4 separate regions of the Homo sapiens genome follow, and regions 2, 3 and 4 are each linked to region 1. Evidence: promoter capture Hi-C in 16 types of primary human blood cells and fetal thymus (Javierre and others, 2016). All regions are on one chromosome and are shown on one strand. Each heading gives the region's core, a stretch centred on a gene start or on the middle of the fragment in contact. The rest is flanking DNA. Distances are from core to core; before and after follow the strand shown. Region 1 holds the start of ZNF142 (zinc finger protein 142). Region 2 overlaps CXCR1 (C-X-C motif chemokine receptor 1). Region 3 overlaps ARPC2 (actin related protein 2/3 complex subunit 2). Region 4 overlaps PNKD (PNKD metallo-beta-lactamase domain containing).

Region 1 (3,815 bases), core at 1-2,500:
CCACAGGTCAGCATTACTGTGTGGGTCAATACCCTCCTTTTGTGGGGTAAGGGTGGTATTGGAATGCAAGGGTGGAGGCTCCAGGTCCCTCATCCCATTTTGTCCTTCATTAGTCTACTCATACCTGTTTCCTACCAGAGGACCATGTCTGGAGATGCCTTAAACCAAAAAGAGCTATATAAACAGGCTTCACATCAGGGTAATGGATGGACAGGATTTTTGTGGTCCCTGGGACCAGCTATGATAAAAAGGGGTCCATTGGCTGCAGTCAGCAAGGGAGAAGCGTCCGTTGACTTGTCAGTAACCCTATGTCTTGTTATGAGTAATGTCCTTCAAATATCCTCCCCCTTACGTCCCCAATATTTAACGTCTTGTTTAGACCTTTATTACCTCCCACCTAAACTGTCTTTAAAATCGTAGTTCTTGAAATGGCATTTTAATAGGTCTTCACCTCCTGCTTCACGGAACATCTACACAAGGGTCCAGATCTTTCATCATAGGGATCAGCTCCAATACCATATCTCTCTCTGCTCCAGCACCTTCAATGGCTGGCTCCCAGCAGACCCCTGAATTGGGTATAAACTCAGCCTGGTACTCAAGGCTCTCTACAATACGGCGCCCACCTACCTTTCATGGATTAGCTCCTAACACTACCTGTTTAGCAAATATGCAAATACGCAACAAATATGTTCAACAAGTAAGCAACCTCCCAACTCCTTGCTCATGCAGTGCTCTTGGCTCGGAATGCCCGTTCTTTTCTCCCTCATTCTCCCCAAATGAAAATCTGCCCATCTGCTACTTTCTCCACGGATCGTCACATCGTAGACAATAAGATCCTGAGGGACAAGAGCAAAGTTGTTTCTAGTACACCTCTCCTCCAACCCCGAACCCCGGCCACTTTGCCCTGCGCCTGGCATGCAGGGAGGTGAGCTGACAGCAGTGACCTCGGCTGAGCCTCAGAACTGGGATCCAGAATTCCAAAACACCTATGCATGGAAGGCCACAGACAAAGCTCTCCCGTCCCCGGCCCCTCCGCGACACCCAGGAACCCCCTCCTGAACCTCGCCCACACCCCAGCTCGCGCCTCCAGCCACATGGTTTGGGGTAACCCGTCACTCAGCCCTCTCACCGCCGTGACTCTCTGGCCCTCCGTCTCGATGGTTTCACCGCGCCTGCACCTTGGGGAAGCTGCGTTCGGCCCCGCCCCGGGTCCTTTCATCTACTTCCCGCCACACCCACAGAGAAGCCCACGCCACTCTACCCCAGAGCTCTCGATGGTGCTTCTCCGGCTTCAGGGCTGGAGTGGGGGTGGAGGGCGGGAAAAACCACAGAGACAAAACATAGAGTACCCCGGCAGCCGGCAAGAGGAAGAGAGAGTGGCTTCCACATCCCCAATATCCTAGAGGCGGCTGAGCCGGAGGCGGTCGCACAAAGCGGGCCCCGGGGGCCGTTCCAGCCGCGGCCGACCATAGAGATGCGGCTCCCGCCGGCTCTGGGTCTGGAGGTGAGTGAGCGGCTGCGGGGCGGAACTGGGAAGGGAATGCGGGTGGAGCGAGCTGGAGGCAAAGTTTTTCGAGCCCCGGGATCAGGGTGGGCCTGGGCGCTGGGAACTCTCGGAAGGAGGTACTGAAGGGAGCACCCAGACGAGCTGGGCCCCGGCGCTGCAGTCGCGTCACGGTTCTGGACCCCGCCCGGGTACCTGCTGCTCTCAGGACAAAATCATGACGATGCTCCATCCCAAGCCTTCCAGGTTACAAACCGCCTTTCCAGTTCGCTGGCTCTTATGATCCAGCTCCTGCCCGACGATGTGGACACTGTCATCACCTCCATTTTACAGATAGGAAAGCTGAGGCCCAGAGAAGCGAAGCGACTGTGTCTGTCCAAGACCACGCGGTGAGTCAGAGCCAGAGGCAGGTGGGAACCTGGGTCGCTAGGCCGGGGCCCGTTGTTTCTCCAGGCCTTCTCTCTGCCTTAGTCTGTCCTTTCTCTTCCTCAGCCCTCCTGCCCGGAAGATAAGCGTATTTCTTCTCTGGTGCCCACCTGTCTCCTACCTCACCCTGCCCTCCCGCAGGTGAAGGTTCTTAATCTTGACGGCTCAGCGTCCTCCTTGGCTCCCCCCGGAGGCCATGTATGGTCAAGCTTGAAGATTCCCCAGAACAGCGATAATATTCAGTAAGTGGAGGCTGCAGTTTCCAGAGAATCCCTCTGACCACGGGAGTGCACTTTCCAGCCACCTTGTGAATCCCTGTGATCTGTTGTTTTGAGTCCATGGGATTCTGGAAATAGGGACTATCAGATTGCAGGATCTTGGTTTTTGTTTGTTTTTTTTTTGAGACGGAGTTTCGCTCTTGTTGCCCAAGCTGGGGTGCAATGGTGCGATCTCGGCTCACTGCAACCTCCGCCTCCCGGGTTCCAGCGATTCTCCTGCCTCAGCCTCCCGAGTAGCTGGGATTACAGGCGTGTGCCACCACACCCTGCTGATTTTTTGTATTTTTAGTAGAAACAGGGTTTCACAATGTTCGCCAGGCTGGTCTCGAACTTCTGACCTCAGGTGATCGGCCCGCCTTGGCCTCCCAAAGTGCTGGGATTACAGGCCTGAGCCACCGCGCCCGGCCTGGTTTCTTCTTCTTTTTTTCTTTTTGCATCTTGTCTGTGACTCAATTTCATGAAGTGATTCCCATCATTCTTATTAATTACTAATTATTCAGCTTAAACTCATTTTAGCCATGTATAACAGGGTATGCAATTCAATTGTCATTCATTCCTCAGTTATGTTCCCATATTTAGTTTGAGGCCATAGTCAGTTAATGAGTTTGAAATTTCTCCAAATGTGTTACGTTATAGGTGAGGAACCACTGGTTTTGTACAAGATACCTAGCTTTACTCCAATGCAGCTCCATATCTGTGGTTCTTCACTGGAATCTTCGATTGTGGGTGATTTGTGTTCGTTGAAGTGATAATGTCAGTATCACAAAGTAATATCATTGAAGTGATAATGTCAACAAATTACTAAAAAAGCTATACATCTAGGGAGAGAGACTGACAGGTAAACAACAGTGCAGTGTGACCTCGTTTCTGATAGGGCTGTGTACAGAGTGCCCTTAGGACGCCAGAAGAGAGAAGATAAGAGTTTCGGGAAGCCAGGCCCGGCGCGGTGCCTCACGCCTGTAATCCCAGCACTTTGGGAGGCCGAGGCAGGTGGATCACCTGAGTTCTGGAGTTCAAGACCAGCCCAACCAACATGGAGAAACCCCATCTCTACTAAAAATACAAAATAGTAGCCAGGCGTGGTGGTACATGCCTGTAATCCCAGCTACTCAGGAGGCTGAGGCAGGAGAATCGCTTGAACCCAGGAGGCAGAGGTTGTAGTGAGCTGAGATCGTGCCACTGCCCTCCAGCCTAGGTGACAGACTAAGACTGTCTCAAAAAAAAGAATGTCAGGAGGCCTTCATGGTGGAAGTGACATTTGTGCAGCTTCTTCAAGGATAGTTAATTGGTTAGCCAGATAAGAGAGAGAGATTGAGAAGGGGAAAAGGCATATCAAGCCAAGAGACGCAAAAGGCTGTGAGGGTATGAAAGCAAAAGAGAATGTGGTGGGTCTGGAGAATGGCACATCATCTGGTTCAGAGATCTGCTGAGGGGAGAAGTGGGAGATGAGTCAGGGGAGGTCAGCAGGAGCCAGATGATGAAGGAAGGGCCTTCCTTATAATCCATGCTGAGGAATAGTGAGATTATCAAAGGTTAAGAGGGAAAGGGACCAGGCAAGGTGGCTCACGCCTATAATCCCAGCACTTTGGGAGGCCAAAACGGGCAGA
Region 2 (3,815 bases), core at 852-3,351, 500 kb after region 1:
TGCTGGTCATCTTATACAGCAGGGTCGGCCGCTCCGTCACTGATGTCTACCTGCTGAACCTGGCCTTGGCCGACCTACTCTTTGCCCTGACCTTGCCCATCTGGGCCGCCTCCAAGGTGAATGGCTGGATTTTTGGCACATTCCTGTGCAAGGTGGTCTCACTCCTGAAGGAAGTCAACTTCTACAGTGGCATCCTGCTGTTGGCCTGCATCAGTGTGGACCGTTACCTGGCCATTGTCCATGCCACACGCACACTGACCCAGAAGCGTCACTTGGTCAAGTTTGTTTGTCTTGGCTGCTGGGGACTGTCTATGAATCTGTCCCTGCCCTTCTTCCTTTTCCGCCAGGCTTACCATCCAAACAATTCCAGTCCAGTTTGCTATGAGGTCCTGGGAAATGACACAGCAAAATGGCGGATGGTGTTGCGGATCCTGCCTCACACCTTTGGCTTCATCGTGCCGCTGTTTGTCATGCTGTTCTGCTATGGATTCACCCTGCGTACACTGTTTAAGGCCCACATGGGGCAGAAGCACCGAGCCATGAGGGTCATCTTTGCTGTCGTCCTCATCTTCCTGCTTTGCTGGCTGCCCTACAACCTGGTCCTGCTGGCAGACACCCTCATGAGGACCCAGGTGATCCAGGAGAGCTGTGAGCGCCGCAACAACATCGGCCGGGCCCTGGATGCCACTGAGATTCTGGGATTTCTCCATAGCTGCCTCAACCCCATCATCTACGCCTTCATCGGCCAAAATTTTCGCCATGGATTCCTCAAGATCCTGGCTATGCATGGCCTGGTCAGCAAGGAGTTCTTGGCACGTCATCGTGTTACCTCCTACACTTCTTCGTCTGTCAATGTCTCTTCCAACCTCTGAAAACCATCGATGAAGGAATATCTCTTCTCAGAAGGAAAGAATAACCAACACCCTGAGGTTGTGTGTGGAAGGTGATCTGGCTCTGGACAGGCACTATCTGGGTTTTGGGGGGACGCTATAGGATGTGGGGAAGTTAGGAACTGGTGTCTTCAGGGGCCACACCAACCTTCTGAGGAGCTGTTGAGGTACCTCCAAGGACCGGCCTTTGCACCTCCATGGAAACGAAGCACCATCATTCCCGTTGAACGTCACATCTTTAACCCACTAACTGGCTAATTAGCATGGCCACATCTGAGCCCCGAATCTGACATTAGATGAGAGAACAGGGCTGAAGCTGTGTCCTCATGAGGGCTGGATGCTCTCGTTGACCCTCACAGGAGCATCTCCTCAACTCTGAGTGTTAAGCGTTGAGCCACCAAGCTGGTGGCTCTGTGTGCTCTGATCCGAGCTCAGGGGGGTGGTTTTCCCATCTCAGGTGTGTTGCAGTGTCTGCTGGAGACATTGAGGCAGGCACTGCCAAAACATCAACCTGCCAGCTGGCCTTGTGAGGAGCTGGAAACACATGTTCCCCTTGGGGGTGGTGGATGAACAAAGAGAAAGAGGGTTTGGAAGCCAGATCTATGCCACAAGAACCCCCTTTACCCCCATGACCAACATCGCAGACACATGTGCTGGCCACCTGCTGAGCCCCAAGTGGAACGAGACAAGCAGCCCTTAGCCCTTCCCCTCTGCAGCTTCCAGGCTGGCGTGCAGCATCAGCATCCCTAGAAAGCCATGTGCAGCCACCAGTCCATTGGGCAGGCAGATGTTCCTAATAAAGCTTCTGTTCCGTGCTTGTCCCTGTGGAAGTATCTTGGTTGTGACAGAGTCAAGGGTGTGTGCAGCATTGTTGGCTGTTCCTGCAGTAGAATGGGGGCAGCACCTCCTAAGAAGGCACCTCTCTGGGTTGAAGGGCAGTGTTCCCTGGGGCTTTAACTCCTGCTAGAACAGTCTCTTGAGGCACAGAAACTCCTGTTCATGCCCATACCCCTGGCCAAGGAAGATCCCTTTGTCCACAAGTAAAAGGAAATGCTCCTCCAGGGAGTCTCAGCTTCACCCTGAGGTGAGCATCATCTTCTGGGTTAGGCCTTGCCTAGGCATAGCCCTGCCTCAAGCTATGTGAGCTCACCAGTCCCTCCCCAAATGCTTTCCATGAGTTGCAGTTTTTTCCTAGTCTGTTTTCCCTCCTTGGAGACAGGGCCCTGTCGGTTTATTCACTGTATGTCCTTGGTGCCTGGAGCCTACTAAATGCTCAATAAATAATGATCACAGGAATGAATGCATGCTGAAAAGACCACTCTTTTGCACACCATCTGCTCAAAGCTCCTCTTGTCTGTCCTCTCCGCTTTCAGCCTCCGTCTGTCCACTTATTAAGTTTGCCTTTGTGGTTTAGCTTCATTAGATGTTTATCTGTGTAAAAATGTCCCAAGTGAGGACTTAAGATGTCAGGGCTCTTCTGATGGCAAATGATAGAAAGAGAAGTCAAACTAGCTTAAGCAAAACTGAGAGTGTGGGTTTAGCCTGTGTGGGGAAGGATCAGGGAAGGCTTGAGGTTGGGAATAGGGTGAGGCTCAGAGACAGGACCTAGATCAAGCTTCAGATGGGGATCAGTGATTGATGTTGAAATCAAAGCTGGGATGGGGGCAGGGATGGGGTGGCAGCTTGGGATGAGGTCAGAGAAGGATGAATGCCAGGAATCGGTAGAGATCTACAAGGAGGGAGAGTGAGAGTCAGGGTCACAGTGAGGTGTTGGGAACAGGGAGATTCAACATGGAGCTGGGACCAGATATGGAGAGTGAGACTTTGGAATGGGATAAGTGTGGGGGAGTGGTGAGGCTCAGGGAGGGGGTGTCAGGCCTGGAATGAATATCAGGGAAGGCTTAGTAGCTATAAGGCTGGAGCAGAAGACGTGCCTGGTAGGGTCACCATCCTATCTGGAGCATCATCTAAGATCCTCTTCCGGGGCCAAAAGACAGAGGCTCCTCAGTCTGTCCTGCTTAAGACTCTCCAGGCAGGTGAGTGAGGAGGGAGTTAGGCACTCGAGCCCTAAGAGATAGACCTGATTCAGCAGAGAAGACAAGAAGGATGCAAAGGATGCACAGAGAATCTAGGGCAGAAGGCTGAGAACTGGGGCCTCCTTTTCCTCTCCTCCCTCCGCTGATCTCCCTCCACCTCTCCTACTGTTTCCTCAAAGTCCAACTTCCTCCTTCTTCACCTTATGCTCCTGCAAGGACAACTCCATCAGAGGCTTCAGTAAGTAAATAGGGATCCACACTGGGTCCAGGGGAAATGCAAATGACTCATAACCTCATGAAAAATGCTCAGTCTCACTAGGAACTAAATGAGGCTCAAACAGCAACAAAATAACTCAGAAGTGTTTTAAACAGGGGAGGGATATAGTGGACTCTTCAAACAAGTGCAACATTTTTCGATTGGATTTTTTTTTTTTTTTTAATGAGACAGGGTCTTGCTCTGTCACCCAGGCTGGAGTGCAGTGGTGCATACACAGCTCACTGCAGCCTCAACCTTCTGAGTTCAGGTGATCCTCCAACCTCAGTTTCCAGAGTAGCTGGGACCAGAGCTGTGCGCCATTATGCCCAGATAATTTTTAAAATTTTTTGTAGATATGGAGTCTTGCCACGTTGCCCAGGCTGGTCTTGGACCCCTGAGCTCAAGTGATCTGCCTGCTTCGGCCTCCTAAAGTGCTGGGATTACAGGTGTGAGCCACTGCACCCAGGCTGATTGGAAATTCTAATGCAGCCTGTAATTTTCTGGGTATAGCTCAAGACACAAATGATTTGGATTTCAGATTTTTAAAAAATGTCAGGATTTTGGTACTTAGTTAACAGCATATTGAAGTACCAAAAACTGATATTTCAATTACTAGATAGGGTGAGGATTAGA
Region 3 (3,815 bases), core at 590-3,089, 430 kb after region 1:
AGATGCTGGTGCCACGCTCTTGGACTTCCCAGTCCCCAGAACATGAGTCAAATAACATATTTTCTTCATAAATTATTCAGTCTGTGGTATTCTGTTATAGCAACAAAAAACAGACTGAGACTCCCTATTTTTTTCTCTGTCACCGTGACTGCTTCACCTGGTGGAAACTGCTTCCAGAATGACATGGCTTAAGAAACAAACATTTTATTTTAATTTAATTAATTCTTTTTTTTTGAGACGGAGTCTCACTCTGTCACCCAGGCTGGAGTGCAGTGGCGTGATCTCGGCTCATTGCAACCTCCACCTCCTGGGTTCAAGCAATTCTCCTGCCTCAGCCTCCCTAGTAGCTGGGATTACAGGTGTCCACCACCACACCAAGCTAATTTTTATATTTTTTAGTAGAGATGGGGTTTCACCATGTTGCCCAGGCTGGGCTCGAAATCCTGACCTCAAGCAATCCACCTGTCTTGGCCTCCCAAAGTGCTGGGATTACAGGCGTGAGCCACTGCGCCTGGCCTACTTATTTATTTATATACAAAGACAGGGTCTCACTACGTTGCCCAGGCTGGGCTTGAACTCTTGACCTCAAGCGATGCTCCTGCCTTGGCCTCCAAAAGTGCTGGGATTACAGGAATGAGCCCCCACGCCTGGCTGAACAATAATTTCCTAATATTCCACATATTTATTTAACCATTTTCCTATAGCTGGAAGAAATTTTCAACCTGCAAGACTACATTTTCTTACACAAGGGCAAAAGATAAATAATGCCACCTGTAGTTCCTATTTGGTGATTGCACAGCCACTGTGAGGTATTTCTTTTACCGAAGAGGAATTGAGAGGAGGGGCTCAAGGTCACGAGAGTTTCTTGGTGGCACAGAGAGACTTGACCTTCAGGTGTCTGATATACCACTTCTTTAAAAAAAAGTAACATGCATATCCCAAGAATTTGAAACAGCATGCGACCTCTGAGCTACAAGTCTGTGTTGCACGTACTATTGGTATTTCGAGGAAGGGGAAATCAGATGTGGTGGGGATTTAGTTTAAATCCCTAAGTCCCTAAGATTTAGTTTAATTTCAAGCTTACTAAGTTAATATTCTGAGATCTAAGAGGTACTGAGAGCCAAATTTATATCATGTTCAACTGCTTTGCTCCCTCCCCTTGGTAAAACCAGCCAACACTTCCTTGTCACTTCACTTGCACTTTTAACCATGATTCACTTTTCAGTTTGTACCCCCTCTCCCAATGACACCAGGAGATGGGTGGAGGCAACCTATCACTCATCACCATTACCTTCCCACTCTAGCAGCAGAGGCATTCCACCTTTAAAAATGGCCTGTGACAAAGTAATAACCTTCCTGTGGTTATCATGGGTTGGTCACTGTTTAACCAACCCAGGGAGCCATTTACTGTGCACTCTGCTCCAACACTATGAATGTTACTTACTCCACCCACTTGAGTGGGTGGGGCTGGTTCTTTGACCCTTGTGGTAGCTACAAGAATAGCAATGTGTTCTGGAGCTCCATCGTAAGAAAAGCACAGAATGGAAAGGAGATTTAAGAAATCTAGCTTAACTCTTTCTTTCCAGGATTATTATTATTGCATTTAGATCTTTTCCTTTTTTTGAGGTGGAATCTCACTATGTCGTCCAGGCTGGACTTGAACTCCTGGGCTCCAGCAACTCTCCCCACTTGAACCCCTCAAGCCAACTGTGTGAAGTCCCAACACACAGTTGGCACTACAGGTGTGTGCCACTGTGCAGGCTTGCACCTAGTGAAGACTGTCTAGGGGAGAATGATTACACAATTTAAAAAAAGTCTATTCAAATATTTTAACACTTCTTTTCAGGTAGTTATAGCTGATCCAAAGCAGCGATGCAGCTGGACATGGTGGCTCACATCTATAATCCCAGCACTTTGGGAGGCCCAGGAAGGAGGACTGCTTGAGCCCAGGAGTTTGAAACTAGCCTGGGCAACATAGTGAAACCTCCTCTCTCTAAAGAACAAACAAACAAAAAATAAGCCAGGTGTGGTGGCACGTGCCTGTAGTCCCAGACACTCAGGAGGCTGAGGTGAGAGGACTGCTTGAGCCTGGGAGGTTGAGGGGTGCAGTGGCTGTGATTGTGCCACTGCACTCCAGCCTAGGTGACAGAACAAGACCTTGTCAAAAAAAAAAAAAAAAAAAAAAAAGAAAAAAAAAAGAAAAGGCTGGGCACGGTGGCTCACACCTGCAATCTTAGCACTGTGGGAGGTCGAGGCAGGCAGATCACCTGAGGTCAGAAGTTTGAGAGCAGCCTGGCCAATGTGGTGAAACGCCATCTCTATGAAAAGTACAAAAAATTAGCCAGGTGTAGCGGTGCATGCCTGTAATCCCAGCTACTCAGGAGGCTGAGGCAGATGAACTGCTTGAACCCAGGAGTTGGAGGTTGCAGTGAGCTGAGCTGGCGCCACTGCAGTACAGCCTGGGGCAACAGAGTGAGACTCCACCTCAAAAAAAAAAAAGAGGCAGGGCTGCTTTAATAGCCATTTGTTTTCTTTCACTCTTTATCTGGTAAAGAAGTGTCAGCCACTATCTTTTACAAAACAATTCTTCATAAGCTTTATAAAAGCACTAGGTCTTCTTTCTGAAGCTTTTCTTTTTCCAGTAAACTAATCTGGATTCCAAATCCTCTAAATATTTCTTCTTTCTTTGAACTTATGAGAAAATCAATTGCATTTGAATAACTAAGGGAAGCAACCAATGGCTCTTGGTATTAAGACTAATTTTAGTTTTTATGCTAAAAAATTAAACAAGCTTTTGACCATATTCCTTTACAAATCATCTTTTATTATATAAGTTTTAAATAATTCAAAAGCTACTACTTTTCAGAAAGAAACAGCTATGGTTATATCTTCATTTAACAGATTAAGGAGAACCTAGTTTGTTAAAACTAAGAAATTTGAAAACTGATTCAGGAACTGAGTCATATTTCCTGCTTTGAGACCCAACCACAGCGTGCACAAACTGGTGTAATAGCATTTTCTTTCTTCCATAAATGGCTCTCCTCAGAGCAAATACAGTTCAACAGGAACCAAACCTGCTACTTAACTATTTAAAGAAGCCAGTGAACAAGGCATGGCCACCGAAGTTTCATAATGTCTGGACATCTTTCTTATTTCCCCTATGGTAGTTATAAAGAAGAGATATTTAAAGACGGTAGCTTTAAAGAGCTTTAATTAAAAATTTCAAAAGACAGCTATTTGTGCCTAAGCCTCCAGAATGAGAACCTGAGACTATAAAATTTAAACAAGCTAGAAGTTATCTATCTGCCTTGATAATATTACAAAAATAGAACAGAACCTAATTCTTGCAACAGCTATTTTTGTACTGATCAAGGAAAAGTATTCTTTGCTATGTTTTTGGAGAACTAAAGCTATTTTTGTTTCCATTGTTTTAAAGCAAGCAAGCAAGAGTCAAAACCTTTTCTAGGAAACACAATTCATTATAGGAATCAAGTCAAGAGCCCCTAGTTAGGTGAGCAAGTAGTCATGTGGGGGTGATTTAGTGCCATGGATCTTCCATGAATGGCAAACTGCCAATGAAAGGTGAGGAAACAAGAGTCCCAAGGAAAATGATGTGGATCTTACCTCATCAGCACCATGTGCCTGAAGTTCCTTGTAGAATTTCAAAGAAATACTGACCATCACTTTTGTTTTGTCTCCATTAGGATTTGAAATATGATAGAGGACCCCATCGAAATCTGTGAGGAAAGCAAATAAGATTGCGTAACAATTTGGGAATGGGAAATAATCTCTCCAAGCGCCTACCTTGCCGTAGG
Region 4 (3,815 bases), core at 883-3,382, 310 kb after region 1:
TCGAGACCATCCTGGCTAACACGGTGAAACCCCACCTCTACTAAAAATACAAAAAATGAGCCGGGCGTGGTGGTGGGCGCCTGTAGTCCCAGCTACTCAGGAGCCTGAGGCAGGAGAATGGTGTGAACCTGGGAGGCGGGGCTTGCAGTGAGCAGAGATCGTGCCACTGCACTCCAGTCTTGGGCAACAGAGCAAGACTCAGTCTCAAAAAAAAAAAAAAAAAAAAAAGAAAGAAATTGGCAGGTGAGGTGGCTCACGCCCCTGTAATCCTGGCACTTTGGGAGGCTGAGGTGGGCGGATCACAAGGTCAGGAGATCAAGGCCATCCTGGCTAACACGGTGAAACCCTGTCTCGACTAAAAATACGAAAAATTAGCTGGGTGTGTGGCATGCACCTGTAGTCCCAGCTACTTGGGAGGCTGAGGCAGGAGAATCGCTTGAACCCGGGAGGTGGAGGTTGTAGTGAGCCGAGATCGCACCACTGCACTCCAGCCTGGTGACAGAGGGAGACTCTGTCTCAAAAAACAAAAAAAAGAAGACAGCCGCCCCGTCCGGGAGGGAGGCGGGGTCCAGCCCCCGGCCGGCCAGCCGCCCCATCAGGGAGGGAGGGGGGGACAGCCCCCGCCCGGCCAGCCGCCCCGTCCGGGAGGTTGGGGGCGCCTCCGCCCGGCCGCCGCCCCGTTGGGAGGTGGGGGGCGCCTCTGCCCGGCCACCCCTTCTGGGAAGTGAGGAGCCCCTCTGCCTGGCGGCCACCCCATCTGGGAGGTGTACCCAACAGCTCATTGAGAACGGGCCATGATGACGATGGTGGTTTTGTGGAATAGAAAAGGGGGAAATGCGGGGAAAAGATAGAGAAATCAGATTGTTGCTGTGTCTGTGTAGAAAGAAGTAGACATAGGAGACTCCATTTTGTTCCGTACTAAGAAAAATTCTTCTGCCTTGGGATGCTGTTGATCTATGACCTTACCCCCAACCCTGTGCTCTCTGAAACATGTGCTGTGTCCACTCAGGGTTAAATGGATTAAGGGCGGTGCAAGATGTGCTTTGTTAAACAGATGCTCGAAGGCAGCATGCTCGTTAAGAGTCATCACCACTCCCTAATCTCAAGTACCCAGGGACACAAACACTGCGGAAGGCCGCAGGGTCCTCTGCCTAGGAAAACCAGAGACCTTTGTTCACTTGTTTATCTGCTGACCTTCCCTCCACTATTGTCCTATAACCCTGCCAAATCCCCCTCTGCGAGAAACACCCAAGAATGATCAATTAAAAATAAATAAATAAATAAATAAAAGAAGACATACATGTGGACAACAAACATATGAATAAAAGCTCAACATCACTCATCATTAGAGAAATGCAAATCAAAACCACAATGAGATACCATCTCACACAAGTCAGAATGGCTGTTATTAAAAAGTCAAAAAATAACAGACGCTGGAAAGGTTGTAGAGTAAAAGGAACGCTTATACACTGTTGGCGGGAGTGTAAATTTGTTCAACCAAAGTGGAAGACAGTGTGGTGTTTCCTCAAAGACCTAAAGACAGAACTACCATTCGACCCAGCAATCCCATTACTGGTTATATACCCAAAGGAATATAAGTTGTTCTATTATAATGATATGGTGTGGCTTTTTGTCCCCACCCAAATTTCATCTTTTTTTTTTTTGGGACAGAATCTCCCTCTGTTGCCCAGGCTGGAGTACAGTGGTGCGATCTTGGCCTACTTCAACCTCTGCCTCCCGGGTTCAGCGATTCTCGTGCCTCAGTCTCCTGGGTAGCTGGGATTACAGGCGCTCACCATCATGCCTTGCTAAGTTTTGTATTTTTAGTAGAGACGGGGTTTCACCATGTTGGCCAGGATGGTCGTGATCTCCTGACCTCGTGATCCGCCTGCCTCAGCCTCCCAAAGTGCTGGGATTACAGGCGTGAGCCACCACGCCCGGCCCTTTAATCATTTTTATGAACTGAAAACCAGTGTCACTTGTCAAAAATAAATATTGAACCCAAATATAAATATAATGAAAACAAAACGATGTTGTTAAAGCTTAACTACAGACATTTCCCAACTAAAGTATGAACCTGGATCCCGGGTCTTTCTTTCCAAAGACATTAAAGACAGACTAGTGCCAAGACCGTGTCCTTGAAGTCCAATTGATTGCTGTGCTGTGGCCATGTACAGCCACCCTACTTTGGCCAGTGGTACACTTGTGTATCTCAAGCTTTGGGAAACATTGAGATAAGCAAATCGTAAACCCTGAACAAATGCCCATGGGCCTTGGGAAGAACATATTTTAGGCATCATTTCTCTCTCTCTTTTTAAAAAAATTTTTTTTTTTTTTGAGACAGAGTCTCATTCTGTCGCCCAGGCTGGAGTGCAGTGGTGCGATCTCGGCTCACTGCAACCTCCGCCTCCTGGGTTCACGTGATTCTCCTGCCTCAGCCTCCTGAGTAGCTGGGATTATAGGCTCCTGCCACTATGTCTGGCTAATTTTTTGTATTTGTAGTACAGATGAGGTTTCACTATGTTGGCCAGACTGGTCTCGAACTCCTGACCTTGTGATCCACCCGCCTCAGCCTCCTAAAGAGCTGGGATTATAGGTGTGAGCCACTGCGCCCAGCCTTTGGGCATCATTTCTGATCAAAACTCTTGAAGTGCCTAACTGCAAGTTAGCAGGCCTGGAACTGAGATGGGAAAACTGTGAGAAAGTTCTCTGCTGTTTTCACTCATGTAGCAACAAAGACAAGCTGTTGGGTGATCAAGTCTTGATTAAATCATTCATTCATTCAACATTTATTGAGCGCCTACTGTGTGCTAGGCACCGTGCTAGGCGCAGAAATACAGAGATGCATAAGATACAGTCCATGCCCTTAAGGATTCACAGTCTAGAAGGGGAGACAAACATGTAAACAAGTAAAATACAGTGTGATAAGTGCCACAAGAGAAGCATTGACAAAGTGCAGAGGTAGCCTGGAGGGGAGGGGCACAGGGGTTGCCTTCCTGGAGGAGGGGGCCTTTGAGGGGATCGTGAGAGATGAACTTGCCAGGCAGACAAGGCAGGAGGAGCAGGGGAAGGCATTCCAGTCGGAAGAAACAGCATGAGCGAAGGCACAGAGGCATGAAACTGCATGTCTTGCTTGGTGAGTGGGGAACTCTAACTAGTCTGGTGGTATTGCTAAAGTGTACTAGAGGCTGTGGCTAGAGAAGGGGGCAGAGGCCAGATCATGAGGGGAAACTGAGGGCAGGGGCATCTTGGAGGGTCACCAGAGGTGAGCAGAGCCCGAGGGCAGGCTTTGACACAGGAAAAGAGGGCTCCTGGCTGACTCAAGGTACACCTGCCTGAGGACCACAGGGTTCCTCGCTGTGGCTCCAAAGGGATCTCGACCCAAGAGTAGAGGAGCAGCAGAGCTGGAGGTGAAGCAGAGGGGTCGGGCCAGGTCTGGGACCCAGAGCTGCCATGCACTCCCGCGCTCTCACAGACTTCTGATTTCCAACCTGCACGTCAGAGCCCCCTCCTGCCAGCCGGATGGGGGCCTGGATCCAGTGGGAAATCACATGGGAATATGGCTGGCAAACTGCAAAGGGCCAGATGAGTGTCAGGTTACAGAATAAATCTTTACTAACTCAAAGAAGAAAAGGGCTGCGGATAAAACAGGAAAGGTTAGATGGAGGAAGGCGGGCAGACGGGCCTAAGAACAAGGGCCAAAATGAGAATACAGCATCGGCCAAAGAGGACCGTGGCTGTCTCTCCCCTGGCAAGGAGGGGCCCTTTTGGCCCAGGGCAGAGGCAGAGGCCAGTGGGTACAACCAGGCCAGATG

The links. Contacts are between HindIII fragments. The CHiCAGO score rates a contact against its expected background, and 5 or more counts as called.
Region 2: a contact is called between a fragment that was not itself captured here and the fragment with the promoter of ZNF142 in region 1, in 1 of 17 cell types (total CD8 T cells). The highest score is 5.2, in total CD8 T cells.
Region 3: a contact is called between a fragment that was not itself captured here and the fragment with the promoter of ZNF142 in region 1, in 6 of 17 cell types (total CD8 T cells, fetal thymus, erythroblasts and 3 more). The highest score is 7.9, in total CD8 T cells.
Region 4: a fragment that was not itself captured here is called in contact with the fragment with the promoter of ZNF142 in region 1 in 2 of 17 cell types (total CD8 T cells and naive B cells); the score reaches 5.5 in total CD8 T cells.

What each region holds. Positions count from the first base shown.
Region 1 is chr2:218,657,058-218,660,872 of GRCh38, reverse strand. ZNF142 (zinc finger protein 142) reads left to right here and starts at 1,250. Exons shown (of 11, transcript NM_001379659.1): 1 at 1,250-1,504; 2 at 1,743-1,893; 3 at 1,997-2,172. It overlaps BCS1L (BCS1 ubiquinol-cytochrome c reductase complex chaperone), which reads right to left and starts at 1,190. Exons shown (of 8, transcript NM_001079866.2): 1 at 1,130-1,190. RefSeq lists enhancers at 1,067-1,196, 2,007-2,126. The HindIII fragment of the contact is 10,571 bases long and covers 1-2,141 here.
Region 2 is chr2:218,161,216-218,165,030 of GRCh38, reverse strand. CXCR1 (C-X-C motif chemokine receptor 1) reads left to right here. Exons shown (of 2, transcript NM_000634.3): 2 at 1-2,190. The coding sequence ends at 872. Among named protein-coding and RNA genes, the nearest start is that of CXCR1, 3.8 kb to the left of the region's middle. The HindIII fragment of the contact is 813 bases long and covers 1,695-2,507 here.
Region 3 is chr2:218,228,660-218,232,474 of GRCh38, reverse strand. ARPC2 (actin related protein 2/3 complex subunit 2) reads right to left here. Exons shown (of 11, transcript NM_152862.3): 4 at 3,625-3,737. Among named protein-coding and RNA genes, the nearest start is that of ARPC2, 13 kb to the right of the region's middle. The HindIII fragment of the contact is 1,516 bases long and covers 1,082-2,597 here.
Region 4 is chr2:218,345,738-218,349,552 of GRCh38, reverse strand. PNKD (PNKD metallo-beta-lactamase domain containing) reads right to left here. Exons shown (of 10, transcript NM_015488.5): 10 at 2,760-3,815. The region is part of intron 2 of CATIP-AS2 (CATIP antisense RNA 2); the gene reads left to right. Among named protein-coding and RNA genes, the nearest start is that of MIR6810, 5.7 kb to the right of the region's middle. RefSeq lists an enhancer at 89-639. The HindIII fragment of the contact is 175 bases long and covers 2,045-2,219 here.